7 separate regions of the Homo sapiens genome follow, and regions 1, 2, 3, 4, 5 and 6 are each linked to region 7. Evidence: promoter capture Hi-C in 16 types of primary human blood cells and fetal thymus (Javierre and others, 2016). All regions are on one chromosome and are shown on one strand. Each heading gives the region's core, a stretch centred on a gene start or on the middle of the fragment in contact. The rest is flanking DNA. Distances are from core to core; before and after follow the strand shown. Region 1 overlaps MGRN1 (mahogunin ring finger 1). Region 2 overlaps NAGPA (N-acetylglucosamine-1-phosphodiester alpha-N-acetylglucosaminidase). Region 3 overlaps ALG1 (ALG1 chitobiosyldiphosphodolichol beta-mannosyltransferase). Region 4 holds the start of C16orf89 (chromosome 16 open reading frame 89). Region 5 overlaps UBALD1 (UBA like domain containing 1). Region 6 overlaps MGRN1 (mahogunin ring finger 1). Region 7 holds the start of GLYR1 (glyoxylate reductase 1 homolog).

The links. Contacts are between HindIII fragments. The CHiCAGO score rates a contact against its expected background, and 5 or more counts as called.
Region 1: a fragment that was not itself captured here is called in contact with the fragment with the promoter of GLYR1 in region 7 in 3 of 17 cell types (erythroblasts, neutrophils and megakaryocytes); the score reaches 6.3 in erythroblasts.
Region 2: a contact is called between a fragment that was not itself captured here and the fragment with the promoter of GLYR1 in region 7, in 6 of 17 cell types (megakaryocytes, M2 macrophages, M1 macrophages and 3 more). The highest score is 22.6, in megakaryocytes.
Region 3: a fragment that was not itself captured here is called in contact with the fragment with the promoter of GLYR1 in region 7 in 1 of 17 cell types (M2 macrophages); the score reaches 5.9 in M2 macrophages.
Region 4: a contact is called between the fragment with the promoter of C16orf89 here and the fragment with the promoter of GLYR1 in region 7, in 1 of 17 cell types (M2 macrophages). The highest score is 6.5, in M2 macrophages.
Region 5: a fragment that was not itself captured here is called in contact with the fragment with the promoter of GLYR1 in region 7 in 3 of 17 cell types (neutrophils, fetal thymus and endothelial precursors); the score reaches 6.6 in neutrophils.
Region 6: a fragment that was not itself captured here is called in contact with the fragment with the promoter of GLYR1 in region 7 in 1 of 17 cell types (neutrophils); the score reaches 7.4 in neutrophils.

The regions. Positions count from the first base shown.
Region 1 is chr16:4,647,166-4,649,931 of GRCh38, forward strand. All of the region lies in intron 1 of MGRN1 (mahogunin ring finger 1), which reads left to right. Among named protein-coding and RNA genes, the nearest start is that of MIR6769A, 23 kb to the right of the region's middle. RefSeq lists an enhancer at 1-484. The HindIII fragment of the contact is 6,118 bases long and covers 1-2,766 here.
Region 2 is chr16:5,027,568-5,030,267 of GRCh38, forward strand. NAGPA (N-acetylglucosamine-1-phosphodiester alpha-N-acetylglucosaminidase) reads right to left here. Exons shown (of 10, transcript NM_016256.4): 5 at 1,313-1,441; 6 at 413-618; 7 at 279-326. Among named protein-coding and RNA genes, the nearest start is that of NAGPA-AS1, 4.8 kb to the right of the region's middle. RefSeq lists an enhancer at 880-2,079. The HindIII fragment of the contact is 6,851 bases long and covers 1-2,700 here.
Region 3 is chr16:5,084,162-5,086,861 of GRCh38, forward strand. ALG1 (ALG1 chitobiosyldiphosphodolichol beta-mannosyltransferase) reads left to right here. Exons shown (of 13, transcript NM_019109.5): 13 at 589-2,700. The coding sequence ends at 720. It overlaps EEF2KMT (eukaryotic elongation factor 2 lysine methyltransferase), which reads right to left. Exons shown (of 8, transcript NM_201400.4): 8 at 123-1,571. The coding sequence ends at 1,471. Among named protein-coding and RNA genes, the nearest start is that of EEF2KMT, 12 kb to the right of the region's middle. RefSeq lists an enhancer at 67-979. The HindIII fragment of the contact is 997 bases long and covers 884-1,880 here.
Region 4 is chr16:5,064,704-5,067,403 of GRCh38, forward strand. It overlaps C16orf89 (chromosome 16 open reading frame 89), which reads right to left and starts at 1,253. Exons shown (of 8, transcript NM_001098514.3): 1 at 998-1,253. The coding sequence starts at 1,205. The HindIII fragment of the contact is 15,659 bases long and covers 1-2,700 here.
Region 5 is chr16:4,609,377-4,612,216 of GRCh38, forward strand. It overlaps UBALD1 (UBA like domain containing 1), which reads right to left. Exons shown (of 3, transcript NM_145253.3): 2 at 1,117-1,179; 3 at 1-607. The coding sequence ends at 257. Among named protein-coding and RNA genes, the nearest start is that of UBALD1, 4.1 kb to the right of the region's middle. RefSeq lists an enhancer at 1,726-2,361. The HindIII fragment of the contact is 5,022 bases long and covers 1-2,840 here.
Region 6 is chr16:4,630,235-4,632,934 of GRCh38, forward strand. The region is part of intron 1 of MGRN1 (mahogunin ring finger 1); the gene reads left to right. Among named protein-coding and RNA genes, the nearest start is that of MGRN1, 6.8 kb to the left of the region's middle. The HindIII fragment of the contact is 6,629 bases long and covers 1-2,700 here.
Region 7 is chr16:4,845,922-4,848,621 of GRCh38, forward strand. GLYR1 (glyoxylate reductase 1 homolog) reads right to left here and starts at 1,367. Exons shown (of 16, transcript NM_032569.4): 1 at 1,307-1,367; 2 at 253-289. The coding sequence starts at 1,344. UBN1 (ubinuclein 1) reads left to right here and starts at 1,560. Exons shown (of 18, transcript NM_001079514.3): 1 at 1,560-2,289. RefSeq lists enhancers at 811-870, 1,171-1,230, 1,526-2,368 and silencers at 1,421-2,140, 2,151-2,240. The HindIII fragment of the contact is 6,120 bases long and covers 410-2,700 here.

The DNA of each region.
Region 1 (2,766 bases), core at 130-2,629, 200 kb before region 7:
AGTCCTTCATGTGGTTTTCATGAACATGGTGCACATCTTGGAGGAGCAGGCAGGTGGCTCTGGGCCGGGCCCTGTCTCAGCCCTGCTCCATGACTGGGGCTTGAGGTTGGTCTGAGGCCAGCATCCGGAGACCACCGTGCCCTGAGGCACGGGGTGCCTTGTGGCCCCTGGCCCCGCCCCGTAGGCTGTGTGGAAAATTCACCTTTAAAGACTTTGTGTATTTCAATGTGGTGGGGCTATGTTCAAGGCCCAGGTAATCAGGGAAGGCATCCTGGGCTCACTGTACTGCAGGTGTTCTTTCTTTCTTTTGATTTAAAACCACCACATAGGCTTTGCTCCACCCCTCGTCTGCTCTGCACCAATTTCCCTGGCAGCCTTGTGGGCGTGTCCTTCCAGAACATTCTCTGTGTATTCACAATTTGTGTTGCGCACATCTCAGTGCGTGCGGTGACCCCTCAGAAAATGATCTTGCAGTGTGTTAACTTGTTTTCTTTAACCTGCAAATACTCTGTGACTCGCTCCACATCGGTATGTCTGGATCAGCTTGGTTCCAGCAGCTGTGTGGTGGGCCATAAAATCAGGGCGTCCCACTTGCTGAAGCAGTTGCCGCTTTCTTCTTTGTTTTTGGTCGTCATCAGCTCTCAGTGGTCCCTGTTCTGCATGCTGGGTTAGGTGGGGCTGCGGCTCCCAACCACTGTTCCTGGCAGTCAGCAGCCATGCTGGGCACCTGGCTCTGGGCCACCTCCCTCAGGAGGAGCACCCTGGAATCACTGTTGGGGCCCGGCTGGTCTTGGTGGCCGTGGCTGTGCCAACTGTAACTGGGGCCGTGGTTCTCGGGAAGGACACAGACCATGCAGCGCCTGAAGGTCTCAGAATTCCCGCTGAAGGCCCCGGGAAGGGCCCACCTGGCCTCAGGTGGGAATTCTGAGAAGGAATAGGGATTCTGGGGCCCCCAGTGGGAATTCTGAGAATTCCCAGAAGTCCCTGCAATACGTGAGGTTGAGGACCATGTATTCTGAGCATCCTTGAAATCCACAGGTCCCTGCAGCTACCCGGGTCCTCCCCTCGGAGACTCTTCCCGTGGTCACCCGGCTCCTCCTCCCGGGGACTCTTCCCGTGGTCACCCGGCTCCTCCTCCCGCGGGCTCTTCCCGTGGTCACCCGGCTCCTCCTCTCGGGGACTCTTCCCGTGGTCACCCGGCTCCTCCTCCCGGGGACTCTTCCCGTGGTCACCCGGGTCCTCCTCCCGGGGGCTCTTCCCGTGGTCACCCGGCTCCTCCTCTCGGGGACTCTTCCCGTGGTCACCTGGCTCCTCCTCCCGGGGGCTCTTCCCGTGGTCACCCGGGGGCTCCTCCCGGGGCTCTTCCCGTGGTCACCCGGGTCCTCCTCCCGGGGGCTCTTCCCGTGGTCACCCGGGTCCTCCTCCCGGGGCTCTTCCCGTGGTCACCCGGGTCCTCCTCCCGGGACTCTTCCCGTGGTCACCCGGCTCCTCCTCCCGGGGACTCTTCCCGTGGTCACCCGGGTCCTCCTCCCGGGGGCTCTTCCCGTGGTCACCCGGCTCCTCCTCTCGGGGACTCTTCCCGTGGTCACCCGGCTCCTCCTCCCGGGGCTCTTCCCGTGGTCACCCGGGTCCTCCTCCCGGGGCTCTTCCCGTGGTCACCCGGGTCCTCCTCCCGGGGCTCTTCCCGTGGTCACCCGGCTCCTCCTCTCGGGGACTCTTCCCGTGGTCACCCGGCTCCTCCTCTCGGGGACTCTTCCCGTGGTCACCCGGGTCCTCCTCTCCGGGGCTGTGTGCCAGGAGAAATGGGGCTGGATCTGGGCGTCAGGTCAGGAATCCAGGGGAGAGGCCATGCTCTCAGTGTTCCTTGGCAGGGCTGTGAGCGCAGGTCTCTGAGGATGCCCAGCTGTCCATCCCCTCCTCATAGGAGAAGCGCAGATCTCATGCCTAAGTGTGCCAGGGTCCTGATGGGCGCCACCTACAGCCTCCCGCCCTCACGCGGGAGTCAGACTGAACGAACTAGCCCAGATCCACAGAGACTTCTAAACCCGGCTGGGTGCTGCCATGGAAAGTACACAGGGCTCAGATTTGGGGGTAAGGTGACTTAGCCTGGGGTCACGAAATGTGTAAGGATTTCTTGGGGTGGCTGTGACAAATGACCTCTAACCGTGGCTTGAAACAGCAGAAATGTATTCTCTCACCATCACAGAGGCACACGTCAGAAACCGAGGTGCCAGCAGGGCCACGGTCCCCGAAGGCGCTGGGGGAGGACTCTTCCTTACCTCTCCCCACTCCTGGGGCCCCAGGCACTCATTGTCATCCCTGGGCTTGTGGCCGCATCACTGCAATCTCTTGCCTCCATCTCTTCCCTTGGCCTTCCCTTCAAGTCTGCGTCCAAACCTCCCTCTCCTTTCTTCTGTTAAGAACCAGTCACTGGATTTAGAGCCCCTCAATCCAGTATGACCTCCTCTTAACTTGATTACATCTGCAAAGACCCTAGATCCAAATAAGGTCACATGCACAGGTAGGGGCTGGGTGTGGAGTAGGACCCGAACTTCATCGGAAACACAGCTCAGGCCACTACAGAAGAAAGTGGTGTTGGAGCTGGATGCTGGCTGATGGGCTGGGAGCAGCGAGGAGCCGTCCAGGGAAGGGTGTTGAGGCTGGCAGTGTGGAGAGGCCAGGAGGCCACCTTGGAAGGCCCGAGGCCAGGTGGCCGAGGCAGAGGGTATGAGGGGCACCCGCTGGCCTGTCTGCATCAGCTCCCCT
Region 2 (2,700 bases), core at 49-2,548, 180 kb after region 7:
CAGAGGCACTGCAGTTAGGATCTCAAGATAAGACCGTGCTGGATTTGAGGTGGGCCCTGGAGCCAGAGCCCGGGGACCCTTGTTTTAGCCGAGCCCTTTGTGGAACGGGCCGCAGCAGCCACAGGGGAGTCACACAGTGATGTGCAGGTGAGGCCGGGGCAGAAGACAAGAGGCAAGCATTTCCCAGACCAGAAGGTGGAGACAGAAGCAGCAGAGGAGCAGTGGGGGCTGCCGGGGGCCACCGTCTCCCCATCCGCTAGTGGCGTGGCAGCTCCTACCTTCACTGCAGTTGGACCCGGTCCATCCGGCATCACAGCGGCAGCCGGCTGCCGAGACAAGACCGGGGAGGCCAGGTGAGGGCCTAGGGCAAGGCAGGGCTGGGCAGAGCCCCCTCCCCAGAACCCCCACTCACTCTCCGTGCACAGTCCGTGCTGGCTGCAGTTAGAGGGGCCACAGTCCAGCTCATCACAGCCGGGACCCCGCCAGAAGTGCCCGGTGCATTGGCAGTGCCCGTCCACGCAGGTCCCGTGGCCGTGGCAGTCAGGCGGCTGGCAGCGGGGTTCGTGCACACACACCACGGTGGACACTTGGCGGGGACAGCGCCACATGTTGTCCTGGCTGTAGAGGGATGTGATGTGTGAGGAGAGGACACCCCCAGACGGCCCCTCAACTCCCTCCAGGCTGCCCCCAACCACCCCTCTCTCCATTCTCACCTGTCTACCTACCTACCTACAAGATGGCGTCTATCTATTTTTGAGATGAGGTATTGCGATCCTTCCACCCGAGCCTCCTGAGCAGCTGTAACCGTAAGGTGTGCACCATCACGCCTGCCTAATTTTTTTTTATTTTTTCATAAAGACAGGGTCTATGTTGCCCACACTGGTCTTAAACTCCTGGGCCCAAGCGAACCTCCCACCTCGGCCTCCCAAAGCACTGGGATTCCAGGCGTGAGCCCCTGTGCCCAGCCCTCTCCAGTCTTTTATAGGTTCCTCCGCTCCCTACAATCCCTCCCAGCCCTGGGCCTTTCACATGTGGTGCCCTCTGCCCGGAAGGCTCTCCCACCCCCACCCAGCTACCACCTCCTTCAGATCTCAGTTCTTATTCTGTCATCCTCAGGGAGGTCTTTGCTGACCAACTGACCCTGCTCCTAGGCCTGGGTAGTACTGGCATCCTGGGGGAGGGACTGCAGCAATTTCTGCTCTCTTGAACCCCCGGGGCCTGGCACATAGCAGGCACTCAATATTGGCTGAATGAGACAGGCTGGGGCAGACCTGGACTTCAGCCCTCACGAAGGCGGCTCTCACGTGCTTACCAGTGATCTGACGGGTAACTGGCCAAGGTCCCGTTGAGCACAAAGGTGGCAGAGCCACCCCCATCCAGGTTGATGGCGTTGACCACGTCCTGTTTCAGCAGGAACTCCGCCATTTCCCACAGGTTGATGCTGCGGCACAAAGCGGCGCTGCTCAGGCTCAGCGCCCACCATCATTTCTCATTTAACTCCTTTTCCTTCCACAGTGCAGAGCATCACGCCCACAGTGCAGGCACATTTCTAAGTGGCCCCCGCCCCCAAGCATGTCTCATCCTAGCCCCCGGAAGCTGTGAACACGTGAGATCACACCCATGCCTGTGCTGTTACATGGCATAGGAATCCTTAAGGGAGGGGAAACGGCCCGGAGGATCTGGGTGCAGCCACTGGAATCACAGGAGTGTTCAACACAGAGAGCCTTCTCTGGCTGGTGACAGAATAGGAAGTGAGATTTGAAATACGAGGGGGATGAGAGGGTGGCCGGACAACTGGGGGAGAGGACACACATGGGAAGGAACCTGGGCAGCTTGAAGGAGCTGAGGCCCCAGATGGCGGCCAGCAGGGAAACCAAGACCTCAGTCACAACTGAGGAGGCGACGGGGATTCTTCCAACAACCTAAACAAGAGGATTCTTTCCAGATAAGAGAAGAGCCCTGCCTAACCAGCATCTTGGTTTTGTCCATGGGACACCCTGAACATAGAACATTCCAAGTTGACCAGCCTGGCCAACATGATGAAACCCTGTGTCTACTAAAAATACAAAAATTAGCCAGGTGCGGTGACTCACGCCTGTTAATTCCAGCACTTTGGAAGGCCGAGGTAGATGGATCACCTGAGGTCAGGAGTTCGAGACCAGCCTGGCCAACATGATGAAACCCCATCTCTACTAAAAATACAAAAATTAGCTGGGTGTGGTGGCGGGTGCCCGTAATCCCAGTTACCTGGGAGGCTAAGGTGGGAGGATCACCTGAACCTGAGAGGTAGAGGTTGCAGTGAGCTGAGATTGCACCACTGCACTCTGGCCTGGGCGACGGAGTAAGACCCTGTCTCAAAGAAACAAACAAACAAAAGAACATTCCCTGCTGAGTGTTGCTAAATTTGTGCTGGTTATGCAACCAGAGCAAACCAAAACACTCTCTTTACAGGGGCTAGAAATGAGGCTCAGGGAGGCCGAGGGACTTGTCTACGGCATAGGTGGGTAGACAAGTCATCGATGGCTAAGCTGGGATTGGAACCAAGATCTTCTCCCTGCTCACTTTGTGACCATTTCCTTGTATCCTATCTAGGGTTCAGGAAAGGTGAGGCCTAAAGCTGAAGATGATGAGTTCTTGGAATCGGCAAAGATCTCAGAACCCTCATCCTGTGGGAAGGTGAGGGGGCCCTGGGAGGGGGGA
Region 3 (2,700 bases), core at 132-2,631, 240 kb after region 7:
CAACAGAATGATTGGCAGGATTTTCAGTAAAGGTCCAGGTCGGAAGTCGTTTAGACTGGGTTCCCCAGTCTCTGTCAGAACCATGGTACTCTGTTGGGGTGTGAAAGTAGCCACAGATCATCTGTAGATTAAGGGGTGTGGCTTTGTTCCAATAAAACTTTATTTACAAACACAGGCTGTGGGCTGGATTTGGCCTGCAGGCTGTAGTTTGTGATCCTTGATTCAGACAGTTTAGCAAGGCTGCAAAGAACACCGACACCCCCTTGTTACCCACAGATGGGTGAGACTGCGTTGGCCAGAGGCCGAGAGGAGGGTGCTCACAGGGGAATGGGCAGCACGTAGAGGCCGGGAGGTGCTCCAGGGCACCAAGTGTGGGAAAGTGGGACATGCGGGGAAGTTTCCAGAAACTGTGATGTCAAGTTGGAGGCGGAGTGCTGCTGGGGTGTGAAGGGTCTCGAGTCCAAGTGAGGGAGTTAGGGACTTGGGAGGGGTTGTTGTTGGGTCGGGGACCTGGGGTCAGCCAGGTGGTGACCTGGGATGGGGTGGGGACAGGCAATGAGGTAAGCTCTGCTCTTTATTTTTTTGCAGATGCTTTTCTCAAACTTTCCTGATCCTGCGGGCAAGCTAAACCAGTTCCGGAAGAACCTGCGGGAGTCGCAGCAGCTCCGATGGGATGAGAGCTGGGTGCAGACTGTGCTCCCTTTGGTTATGGACACATAACTCCTGGGCCAGAGGCTAAAACCCCAGGACCCCTGCTGTCCTTCCCGCAGCTTCTTCTTGGAGTCTCAGGGCAAACCCTTTCGAGCAGCACCTCCCAGTGGCCAGAAGCTGAAATGACAGCAGTGGTACTGCCTGGTAAAAGAATTGGTTCTGTGACCCGGGAAGCTTTGGTTGGCCTTGATTTCTTCTCTGGAGGCTTGGAAACGCTTCCTCTCTTCTTCTGTTCTTCACGCCCCATGCCCCTGCTAGCGTATTACTGTTCTGTGACTTCCCTGTGACCTCTGCAGAACTCCTCATCCTGCGTTTGGTCTCCAGGTGTCCCCTTTCTGCCGTGTTCCTAACATTTTGATTCCTGTCTTGAAAAAAGCACCTGCTGCACCGTAAGCCCAGGGATGTGGCAGCTGCAGTGGGCTTGGCTTTGTGAGGAACTGAGTGTGTCCACGTTGGGGGAACATCATACTTGATACACACGTTTTTATTTGCACAAAGAAAATGCTATTTTTGGAGCCAGAATTTTCATGTCTGATTTATGGTGATTTTCTTAAGAACCAGAACTGCTGGCAGAAAGGGGGCACCCACACGCTTAGATAGCCGATGTCTTATTAGAGGGCAGTTTGTGGTTCCTGATTTGGAAATTAACATTCTCCAAACATTCCAGTCCAATGAAAGTTTTATCCGCTTTCCCATATAAAAATTCTTCCCATGAGAGTGACTTGATTCTCACAATCCCGTTGGAGTCGTGTGTGAGTCCTACAGGGTGAGATTCAGCATTGCCATCTCCAAGTGCTCTTCGTAGGGAAACAGTTTCTGCTCATGACGAGGTTCCACTTCCCATCTGATCCCGGCCCGGCCTGGAAACAGAGCACATGTGTTTGAGGATGGCGGTGTTTGGGGACAGGACATGAGGGTATTGTGTGGGGCTGCTAGGACAGGCCTGGCGGGGTAGGGGGGTGTCCAAGTCAGTTTACTTGGTTCACAGGTTCCCAGGCCCACCCAGGTGCCTAGAATTGGCCTCCAGGATGGGACCAGAAAGCTGGTTTTGCATAGAAATGGCTAGCAGCAGGCACCGTGCCGCTGTCCACTCTCTGCCTGTGTCTGCCCCAGCACTTGGCACAGCGGGACAGAAGCAGAGATCTGAATAGTCAACCCACTCTTCACAAAGCTTAGAAAGCGGCCGGGCACAGTGGCTCATGCCTGTAATCCCAACACTTTGGGAGGCCAAGGCGGGCGGATCACTTGAGGTCAGGAGTTCGAGACCAGCCTGGCCAACATGGTGAAATCCCATCTCTACAAAAATACAGAAATTAGCCAGGCATGATGGCGAGTGCCTGTAATCCCAGCTACTTGGGAGGCTGAGGTGGGAGAATTGCTTGAACCCAGGAGGTGGAGGTTGCAGTGAGCTGAGATTGTGCCACTGCACTCCAGCCTGAGTGACAGGGTGAGACTAAGTCTCAAAAAAAAAAAAAAAAAACCACACGCACCACACACACACCCACACACACACACAGCTTAGAAGGGGCTGCTGTTCTCATAAGCACAGATGTCTGAAGAGCCGTTAGCCAGAATGATTCTTTTTTTTTGTTTTGAGATATGATCTTGTTCTGTCACCCAGGCTGGAGTGCAGTGGCACAGTCATTGCTCACTACAGCCTCGACTCCTGGGCTCTAGCAATCCTCCCACTTCCTGAGTAGCTGGGATGACAGGTGCGTGCCACCATGCCAGTAATTTTTTTATTTTGTAGAGATGGGGTCCTGAACGCATGGCCTCAAGTGATGCTCCTGCCTCAGCCTCTTTTATTATTTGTTTTTAGACGAAGTTTTACTCTGTTCCCCAGGCTGGAGTGCAGTGGCACAATCTCAGCTCACTGCAACGCCTCCCAGGTTCAAGTGATTCTCCTGCCTCAGTCTCCCGAGTAGCTTTGACTATAGGCGTGCACCACCACGCCTGGCTAATTTTTGTGTTTTTAGTAGAGATGGGGTT
Region 4 (2,700 bases), core at 3-2,502, 220 kb after region 7:
GATTATTGAGAGGAGAAGGGGCAGTGGATGTGGGATGTGGCGTGGGTGGAGAAGCCGGGCTCACTGCAGCTGCCAAGGAGTGGGGACCCTGGTCTGAGGCTGTTAGGTGGGGCCGCTTTCCCAGTGAATGCTGCCCAGTCATGATTAAGAGAACCCCCTCCCTTCTTTGCTAAAAGAGGATAATAATAATGGGTGTAACCTCAGGGATGACGGGGAGAGGGCACTGAAGTACCCCATGCAATGCACCTGGGTTGTGCCCACATTGAGCAGATACTTAGTGAACTACAGCTTTTGCTATCACATGCGCCCCAGGAAGCACCCAGCCCTGTGGGAGCCACCTGTGTGCTTGTGTGTGTGTGTGATATGCTTGTGTGCATGCGTGCATGCGTGCTTGTGTGTGTGATGTGCATGTGTGTGTGCGTGCGTGCATGTGTGCTTGTGTGTGTGTGCATGATGTGCGCATGTGTGTGTTTACCTTGGCCTGTCTCCAGCCCCCTTCTTGGGGATCTTATAGCTCTCAAAGCTAAACAAACACTTGACTGTTTTTGCAGAACCTTCAGGAGACTTTGGCTGCAAGTGGAGGAAGTGGGGTGGGAACCCGATCTTGAGGGTCCTCAGTTTTGTCCACAGCCACCTCATTCAAGGGGAGGGGTCTTCCCACAAATATCTGTTAACGGGGCACTCTCCCTGCTCCCCTTGTTCGTGGCGTTGTGAGGAGGGGCTGTCAAATGGATCATTTCATTCTGAGAAAAAGATAATTCCCAAATCCCTTCCCATGTTGCCTTTAAATCTTTCCTACTTCTAAAAAATTGCGTAACAGTTAGCTGGGCCACAGCCGCCAGGAAGATCCAGCCCCTGGCCTCCTCTCTCCTTATAGCCGAGGCAGGCTATACTGGGGCCAGGAGTCTGCCAGGTCCCAGGCGTACAGAGCAGGGCAGGGGACAAAGCTGAGAGCTAGCTTCCCAGTGTCCAGCCAGAGGAATTGGGGCTCACTCACCTTCCAGCACTCGGACCCCCACCATGCCATCCAGGTTGATTTCAGGCAGCCTCTGTTCTAGGAAGACGGTGGCTCTCTCCAGCGCAGACAGGATCAGGTCTGCAATGGTGGCTTTACTTTCAGCAGTGTCCAGCCCAGGCAGTGAGGAGGACCACAGCGGTGGCAGTGCTGTCAGTAAGAGCAGGAGCAGCAGCCCCAGGCTGGCCATGGCCGGCCTCTGCTCACTGCTGGTCACACGCTCAGCACCCTGAGCTCTGGCCAAGCCCAGACTGCCTCTGCACGCCCTCCTCCCACCTCCTTCCCACCTCCCCCTGGCAGACATGAAGACAAGTGGCCCGGCAGGGCTGCCAAGAAGCCTGGGGTGGCCTGGGCAAAGGACTCTGGGAAGGGTGGCTGCAGGGGGATGACGGTTAGGCAGCGGAGGTTAGGCCAGTCCTGGGCGTAGAGCCTGCTGTCCACGGGATGCTGGGGAGAGGGCTGCCCGCCCTGTCCTTCTCAGCCCTGATTCTCCAGGCTCACAGGCTAGATCTTTGATCTAGCAATTGCAATTCAACCCAGAAATCCAAAAGCTCTGAAAGCAAAACGAATTTTTTTTTCTTTGTTTTTTGAAATAGGGTCTCATTCTCTTGCCTAGGCTGGAGTGCAGTGGTTTGATCACAGCTCACTGTAGCCTTGACCTCCTGGGCTCAATAGATCCTCTTGCCTCAGCCTCCTGAATAGCTGGGACAATCGGCATGTGCCACCATGTTGCCTAATTTTTGTAGCTTTTTTTAATAGAGACAGGGTCTCACTATGTTGATCAGGCTGGTCTTGAACCGCTGGCCTCAAGCGAGCCACCTTCTTTGGGCTCCCAAAGTGCTGGGATTACAGGCTGGAGCCACCACACCCAGGCTTTGTTTTAAATAAATTTGAAACAAACTCATTTGAGGGCACGTCTGCCTTGAACTGAGGCAAACTTCCTTAAAGGGGCACCGTCCAATTGAAATAGAATTGGAGCTACAAAGATGAGCCATGTGTGCATTTCGAAATTTCCTAGTAGCCACATCTAAGAAAGCAGCAATAAGCAGGTGAAGTTAATTTTAACGATCTAGTTTATTTGACCCAGTTATTTAAAATATTATAATTACATCTGTAATCAATATAGAAATGATTTGTTTTTATTTTTGTCATACTAAGTCTTTGAAATTGATGAGTAGTTTATGTTCACAACACAATTGTTTTATTTTGTTATTTTATTTTTAAGAGACAGGGTCTCATTCTGTTGCCCAGGCTGGAGTGCAGTGATGTGGTCATAGTTCACTGCAGTCTCGAGCTCCTAGGCTCAAGGGACCCTCGCGCTTTAGCCTCCCAAGGAGCTGGCACTCCAGATGTAAGCCACCATGCCAGGCTAAGCACATTTCAATTCAGACTATCCATATTTCAGGGGCTTGATAGTCACATGTAGCTGGTATACTGGGCAGTGTCTTAGTTTTGTGCTACTACAACAGAATACCTGAGACTGAGTAATTTATAAAGAAAAGAAATTCATTTGGCTCATAGTTCTGGAGGCTGGGAAGTCCAGGTTCAAGGGGTTGCATCTGGTGGGGGTCTTCTTGCTATATCATCCCACGGTGGAGGGCAGAAGGGCACGAGAGCTGGAGAGAGAGAAGAGAAAGAAGCTAAACTCATTCCTTTATCAGGTACACGCTTTTGCAATAACAGCA
Region 5 (2,840 bases), core at 341-2,840, 240 kb before region 7:
GAAGTTCTGTCCGCCAGGCACCCAGGCCGCGCTGAACCACTCCATGTGCCGGGGCCGCTGGGGCCATGACCTTGCGTGTGGGCAGCTGCGTGTTCTGGCACCAGACGTGTCCCTGCCTGGCTAGAGTCCGCGCTCTCCCCTCCAGGGCTCCGGGGAACAAGGGGTGCAGACAGAAAAGGGGTGAAGGGGGCCCGCAGAGACGTCCTCTCCCCCGCCCCACGGGGTCCTGGCCTCCGGGAGGGGGGAGGGGCCTCCCTTATCTCTCTGCCTCCATGGCAGGGTGGGCCCTGGGTTCTGAGGTGGCCTGTTGGGGGGCCAGGGGTGGCCAGTCTGAAGCCGGAGAAGGGGGTGTTGGAGTCCACAGGGGCGGCTGTGGCTGGTGGTGCTGTGGGCCCCCCGGGGGCGAGGCCGCCGTGGGCCAGCTGGAGGCCGCAGAGCTGCTGGTGGCGGCATGGGGGAAGTGTGGCGGGGGTGACGTGGCTGTCGCGGCCATCGGGCTGCCGCTGCCACCGCTGTGGAAGCTCTCGGAGGCCTTGAGACGGGAGAACATGGTGAGAGCGTCAGGGAAGTTGGGGGGTGTAGCAGGGGTATTGGCGGGGGTGCACATCTGTGAGGGGAAGAGAGGAGAGATGGGGTGAGCACCCCTTCCTGGAGGGGCCCCCACTGCCTCCCAAGGGGAGATGCGTGGCTGGCCCATTCTCGGAAGGCTCTGTGTTCCTTCCCCAGATCCCCAAGCCTGTCCGCCGCCCAGGGGTTCCCAGAGGAGAAGCCTTGAGATGAACCGACCCAGCCTCACTCTCAGGAGCCCACGGTGCCTGGGGCCACGAGGCTTTCCCAGCCCACCCCTTTCCATCAGCCACAGCATCCCCGGGGGCTGTAGGGTAAGGAGCTTCATTGCCCCAGAGGCCAGCGCCCCCCAGGTCTCAGGGGGAGCTGGCACAGGCAAGATTAAGTGCAGGACCCACGGAGCCGGGACTCCTGCTGACCCATCTCCAAAGAGGTCGAGCCCCGCCTGCACCAGCGCCCTCGTACACCGGGGCCAGGGGCTGCTTATACACAGAACTAGCTCGGCCTCCTTCCGCCCAATCCAGAACTGGGGACTCCGGGGACACTTACCATCTGGTGGTGATGGTGGCTGTAGGGGATGTTGGTCTCCTGGAAAAAGGCGCTGAGGGCTGTCTGCAGGAAGAAAGGCCCCTGCTCACCCTCCAGGCCCCCGCCGGCCCTGCCGCTGCCCTTGTTCCCAGGCTCCTCTGAGGCTGGGGATGACCCTGGCTGGACTGCTGAGTGGGAGGGGTGAGTCGCGGTGCTGAGGCTCAGTGGCTTGCCTGTCACCCCCAACCCTCACTGCTGTCTAAGGAGGAGCCACGGAACCTTGGGCAGTTGGGGTGGGTGGAGAAGACCCTTCCCCTGCTGCTCGCCACCTGCCTCAGTGCCTAAGGCCTGCAGAGCCCTCCCCCTGCACCAGCTGGCACCAGCACCATGACTGGGGGAGGGCGGGCAGTACACCCCATCCTGGGGGAAAGGCGCCCGGCCCCAGGTAGCCCAACCAGACCTCCCCACCCTGCCCCGTTTCAGGAGATTCTAGCCTGGCTGTTACCACCTCAACGGGTAGCAAGTCTCTACTCTTCTCTAAGCCTCGGTCTCCTCATCTGCGAAGCAAAAGCATCCTGAAGGAGTCTGAGCCTGGTGGTGGGGATCCCCTGCTGCCCCACCCAGCTCTGCTTCTGGCTGATCAAGGGGGCCACTGTTTGGGCCTTGGTTTCTCCATCTGTACCACAAAGAGGTTCGACTAGGTGGCTCCTGGGTCCCCTCCCTTGCAACAGTGACCTCCTAAGATCACCAGATTCCAGCAAGCAGGGCCTGGCACCAAGGAGACAAGCCTGGGCTTTAGGCTCACTCGCTTCCCCACCTGAGCCTCCCTCGGAACAGTGCCCGGGAAGTGGAGCAGAAAGACGGCCCTAGGATCAAAGCCACCACGGGTTTACGACAGCTCCCAGCACAGCTCCCCAGCCACCCGCCCTTGGCTGGCACCACGCTAGGCACGGGATGCTCCACCGTCTCCCTCCACACCCGGGCCGCATGCCACACTGAGCACGGTGCGGGCACCCAGCAGGGCTCCATCCCAGCGGGGCCGTGGACTGTCATCATTAACCCCACAGGCAGGGACTGCTGTCTTACAGGCAGGGAAATGAAGGTAGGAAGTGACTTGCTCAGGGTCAGCTGGTCGGCAGAAGACAGAGATGGGGGCGCTCAGAAAGGCCAGGACAGGTGGGGGAGACAGAGCGAGCCTGGAGCCCTTTCCTGTGTGTGTCAGCTCAGCAGGCTCCAGAGGTCCTTGGTGACTGGGAACTGAGGAGCCCCAGAGGGAGGCGCTGGGATTTGCTATGTCCTGGCTGAGGCCCTGCAGGGGTGGGGAGGCCTGTCCCAGGAAACGGAGGCTGCTCTTGCGCAAGGGCCAGTGAGGGAGCCCCACAAGTATTTGAGGGGTTCTCGGGGCCCTGCCAAGTCCCAGGCCCAGACTTGGAGCTTCAAGCCGCCGAGGTGCCCCTACCGCCACCCCTCAGGCCCACTCCCCTAATGCCAGCTTGACTTCCTGGCCCTCCCAGGCCCAGCACACCCAGAAATCCAGCCTGGCTCCTGGGGCCTGCCCTCGATCAGGGGGTATGGGTGGGAGGCTATTTAGATTTTTTTTTTTTTTTTTTTTGAGACGGAGTCTCGCTCTGTCACCAGGCTGGAGTGCAGTGGCGTTATCTGGGCTCACTGCAACCTTTGCCTTCTAGTTCAAGTGATTCTCCTGCCTCAGCCTCCCGAGTAGCTGGGACTACAGGCACGTGCCA
Region 6 (2,700 bases), core at 150-2,649, 220 kb before region 7:
CCAGCTAATTGGGAGGCCGAGGCAGAAGAATCGCTGGAACCCGGAGCGCGGCAGAGGTTGCAGTGAGCCGAGATTATGCCACTGCACTCCAGCCTGAGCGACAGAGTGAGACGCCGTCTCAAAAAAAAAAAAACAAATAGAAAGAAAAGAAATCTTTGCCTAGGTCAAGGTCACAAAGATTTTCTCCTATTTTTTTCTAGCATTTTGTTGTTGTTGTTGTTGTTGGTTTTTTTTGAGATGGAGTCTCCCTCTGTCACCCAGGCTGGAGTGTAGTGGCATGATCTTAGCTCACTGCAGCCTCTGCCCGGGTTCCAGCGATTCTTCTACCTCAGCCTACTGAGTAGCTGAGATTACAGGTGCGAGCCACCACGCCCGGCTAATTTTTGGATTTTTTAGTAGAGACGGGGTTTTCACCATATTGGCCAGGCTGATCTCAAACTGACCTTGTGATCTGCCTGCCTTGGCCTCCCAGATTGCTGGGATTACAGGCGTGAGCCGCTGTGCCCGGCCTTTTCTAGAAGTTTTATAGTTTTAGCTCTTACATTTAGGTCTTTGATCCATTTAGAGTTAATTCTTTTTTTTTTTTTTTTTTTTAATTTTGAGATAGGGTCTTACTCTGTCATTCAGGCTAGAGTATAGCGGCATGATGTCACTCTAGCCTTGACTTCCTGGCTCAGGTGATTCTCCCACCTCAGCCTCCCAAGTAGCTGGGTTTTCCCAGCTATGTATGTGTACCACTATGCCCAGCAAAGTTTTTGTATTTTTTTTGTAGAGACAGGGTTTCACCGTGTTGTCCAGGCTGGCCTCAAAGTCCTGGACTCAAGCAATCTGCCCACCTTGGCCTTCCAGAGTGCTGGGATTACAGGTGTGAGCCGCTGTAGCTGACCAAATTAATTTGTTTCACTTATGGCTTGAGATAAAGATCTAAACCCCCCTTTTTTGTGGATGGAATTCAATTATTTTAGTATCATTTGTTGTAGAGACTATCATCTTCCCATCAAATTGCCTTTGCACCTTTGTCAAAAATTAGTTGACCTAAGCCAGGCATTGTGGCTGGATAACAAAGCAAGACCATGTCTCTTAAAAATCAAAACAACAGCGACAAGAACCCCACCAGTTAACCATGAATGTGAGGGTTTATTTTGGGACTCTCCATTCTGTTCCATTGATTTATGTGTGTCCCAGAAGTTCTCAACTGGGGCATTTTTGCCCTCTCAAGGGACATTTGGCCATGTCTGGAGACATTTGTGATTGTCACAGCTGGGGGCATCTGTTGGGTAGAGGCCACAGGACAGTCCCCCACAATTAAGAATAAATCGGCCCAGAATATCCATAGTGCTTAGACTGAGAAATCCTGGTCTGTTCTTAGACCAGCAGCACACTGGCTTGTTTACAGTAGTTTGATAGTAAGTTGTGAAATCAGGTAGCATAAGTTCTCCAACTTTGTTCTCTTTCAAAATTGTTTTGGTTATGCTAAGTTCTTTGCATTTCCATATACATTTTATAATTAGCCTGTCAATTATTTCTACAAAAGCAGCCTGCAATTTTGATAAGTATTACATTGGATATATAAATCTATGTGGTGAGAATTGCTGTCTTTACAGTGCTGACTCTGGGAATCCATGAACATGGTATATCTCTACATTAATTTTGATATTTAGCTTCTCAGTTGTTTTTTTTTTTCAGATAACTTTACCTATTTAAGGCAAGTGATATTTGCCAATCTATTACTGATATATTGCCTTCCCAATCTAGTAGTGATAAAAAATTTCCTTTTTTTTTTTTTTTTTTTTTTTTGAGATGGAGTCTTGCTCTTGTCACCCAGGCTGGAGGGCAATGGCGCAATCTTGACTCACTCCAACCTCTGCCTCGCAGGTTCAAGTGATTCTCTCCTGCCTCAGCCTCCTGTGTTGCTGGGACTACAGGTGCATGCCACCACGCCCAGCTAATTTTTGTATTTTTAGTAGAGATGGGTTTCACCATGTTGGCAGGGATGGTCTTGATCTATTGACCTTTTGACCCGCCTACCTCAGCCTCCGGAAGAGCTGGTATTACAGGCATGAGCCACTGCGCCCGGCTATTCTTAATAACAGTTTTGTTGAGATCTAATTCACAGCATACGAGTCACACTGAGAACATCTAGTCCAGTGGTTTTTTTTGTTTGTTTGTTTGTTTTTGAGACGGAGTCTTGCTCTGTCGCCCAGGCTGGAGTGCAGTGGCGCAATCTCTGCTCACTGCAAGCTCTGCCTCCCGGGTTCACGCCATTCTCCTGTCTCAGCCTCCTGAGTAGCTGGGACTACAGGCACCCGCCACTACGTCTGGCTAATTTTTTTGTATTTTTAGTGGAGATGTGGTTTCACCGTGTTAGCCAGGATGGTCTCGATCTCCTGACCTCTTGATCCGCCCGTCTCGGCCTCCCAAAATGCGGGGATTACAGGCATGAGCCACCGTGCCGGGACCAGTGGTTTTTGGTATACTTGTGTTGTGCAGCCATCACCACTGTCTAATTCCAGAACATCTTCATCACACCAAAAAGAAACCCAGTGGCCATGAAACAGTCACTCACGGCCAGGCGTGGTGGCTCACATTTGTAATCCCAGCACTTTGGGAGGCCAGGGCAGGCAGATTACTTGAGCTCAGAAGTTTGAGACCACCCTGGGCAACACGGCAAAACCTTGTCTCTACAAAAAATAAAAAAAT
Region 7 (2,700 bases), core at 117-2,616:
TTCCGGGGTTAAAAAAGAAACTTCATAAACCTCCTCTAAATCCAGAAATAAGGGTTTAGAGAAGATTTAATGATCTGGTGTATACTGCATTGCCTTTTAAAAAATAACCGATACTAGGGGAAAAAAAATTCTAAGTGCCATCTGAATGAGCCCAATTTAACTCAATACTAGAAACTGAGAGGAATGCATCTTACATTCTCCACCTCTTCAAACCCAACTTCAGATCTCTTCCTTTAGTAGCAAGACACTCACCTTTCCTGGCCAAGGAGGATATCGGCCGAGTTTCCCCCTAGAGAAAACACAAAGAGTCAACACTTGCCCTGCAAAAGCCAGTCCATCTCCTTCAACCCACTCAATACGCAATTTATTTTCCTAAATCTCTGCTGGCATCCTCAAATGCCGAAACAAAAGCTTTCATAGCTGGGCCCAACACCCTCAGAAGTAAAATGCAAAATTGTATACTTATGTGCACAACGCATATCCATTCTTCTGTTGACAAGGAATACAGAACAACACAACTGTCAAAAGTCACTTGTCTAGAGCTTCTTAATGACGGGGGTGGGAGGACAGCTTCCTCTGTAAACACAGACTTTCCCTCCCTAAGTCTGGTTTAATTCAACAGGAGACCTGCCTGGCTTTGACAAATGCTAATGGAAGCCTTCCTCTGGGTGGAGAAACAAGCTACGCAGCTCGAGGGAGGCGGCGACAAAGTCTTGGTTCGGGCGGTTGTCTGGGACACAGAAGCAGACCGCGGGAGGCACCCAAGCGTGCACTGGTCACTGCCAAGCCATCGGTTGTAAAGGAGAAGTCCCCCCGCCGTTTCTTCGCGGGGCAACGCCAGCAGTCCGGTTTAGACAACCCCGGCTGAGCCGGCCGCACAGGTCGGCTGCATCGCAACCTGGGCTTTGACCGAATGGCACCGGCCAGATCTCGCAGGTCCGGTCCCCGGCGCTTCTGCTTTCTGGGAAGCCCCAACAAGACCCCGGGGACCGGTCGTCCGGGGAAGCCTCGCGGCACCGGCGGCTCCCTTCACGGGGGCCGCCAGTATCTGGGCCCCGAGTGCAGACCCCACCCGGCCGGCCTCGGGGATCAAAGCCGGTGCCCGACGTGGCCACCCTCGGCCTCGGTCCCCCGGGACTGGACTGCCCCTTCCGCCTGGCGCCGCTCGCAAGCGCCGGCACCTTCTCTTCCCCTCTCTCCGCGACCTGGAGCGCATAAAAAGGCAGCTCCAGGGCCGGCAGCGAACCCCGCGCCCAGGCGGGTAGCTCCCCGGCGCGTCTCGGTTGGCCCGGCCGCTCGGACTCACCACACCAAGTCGCCGAGCCGCAGACTCACAGCCGCCATCTTACCACCCAACCACCGCCGACGCACGGGCCGCCGGGAACAGCAAGTCGCCCCGGCGCCGCCCATTGGAGTGGGCCCGACCACGTGACGGGGGCCGGCTGTCACTGGCCACGCCGCTACTCTGACGTCACCGCGCCCGCCGGGGATCATTGGTCGACCGAGGGGCACGTGACGCGAGCGCCGCGGTCTCCGCGCGCCGGAGCGCAGAGACTCCCGGCTCCTTCCCCCTCCCTTCGGCTCGTGACAACGAAGCGCCCGCGGTCTGAGGCGGCGGCGGCGGCGACGGTGCGACCGGCTGAGCGCGAGAGGGAGCCGGCCTCGCGGCTCGCCCCGCCCCCGGGTCTTGGACTCCGCGCCCCTCCCCTCTCGGCGCTTCCGTTACGCCCGTTGGTCCGGCGCGGGCCCCGGGGCCATTCCCGAGCCCGAGGCGCTGGTCGGCCCCGTCGCAGCGCCAGTGAGCTACCCTGACGGAGCTCGGCGCGGCCTGGAACTCAGCCTCCGCCGGGTCTGGGCTCCCGCGCCCGGCAACTCTGCTTGGCCGCAGGCCGGGAGGCCCCGGTGTCCGCGCCCGTCCGCTCCCGCCGCCCGTGTTCTTTGGAGCGCTCCTCCCGACGGCCGCTTTCGGAGGCGCCGTCTGAGCGCGGGGTCCCGCGCCGCAAGTTCTCCTGGGGCGACCGGAGGCTGCTCCCCCGACCCCCTGGTGTCCCCGGAGTGGCTGCGCGGACGTCGAGTTGGCATTTCTTCGCTTCCTCCTGGGCCGGCGCGCGGCGCGGCACACCAGGCTCCCCTGGGCTCGGGGACCCGGCCATGGGCCGAGGCGCGGGCCGCCCGCCCGCTGGGAGCCACGGCTTAGCAGCCGACCGCTAGCTGCGCCGCCGCCCGGGGACCGGCATGAGGACCGCCGCGGGGGGACGTCTGCGGCCCGCGTCGGCGCTGGGGACAAAGGTGCGTGTCGTTGTCGGGTCCGGGCTCTCTCGTTAGCCTTGCCCTAGTTTTGCACTTTTGAAAAAGTTGTGACAACAGGAAGACAGATGCCGGGCGTAGTTTGGACACTTTAAAACTGAACCATGAACTGGGAAGTGTTAACTGCAGTTGAGCGCAGCGTCGGCCCAAACTTCAGCAGACCAGGTAGAATCACAATTTTGCAAAAGATCCCAGTCCCGATCACAGACTCCACAGTGTTAAGGATTGACTTAGACTTGGTGTCGGGCTCTTGTTGAGTCACTGCCAGCTGGCAAAGGTGGCGAGTCGACACGCATTTCCCCAAGGCATTGTGGTGGTTAGAGATTTCGGTTGCAAGTCGGTGTTTAGCGTACTGGGTCGTCCCGCAGCCTGATTTTTCTTGGGAGATCAGTT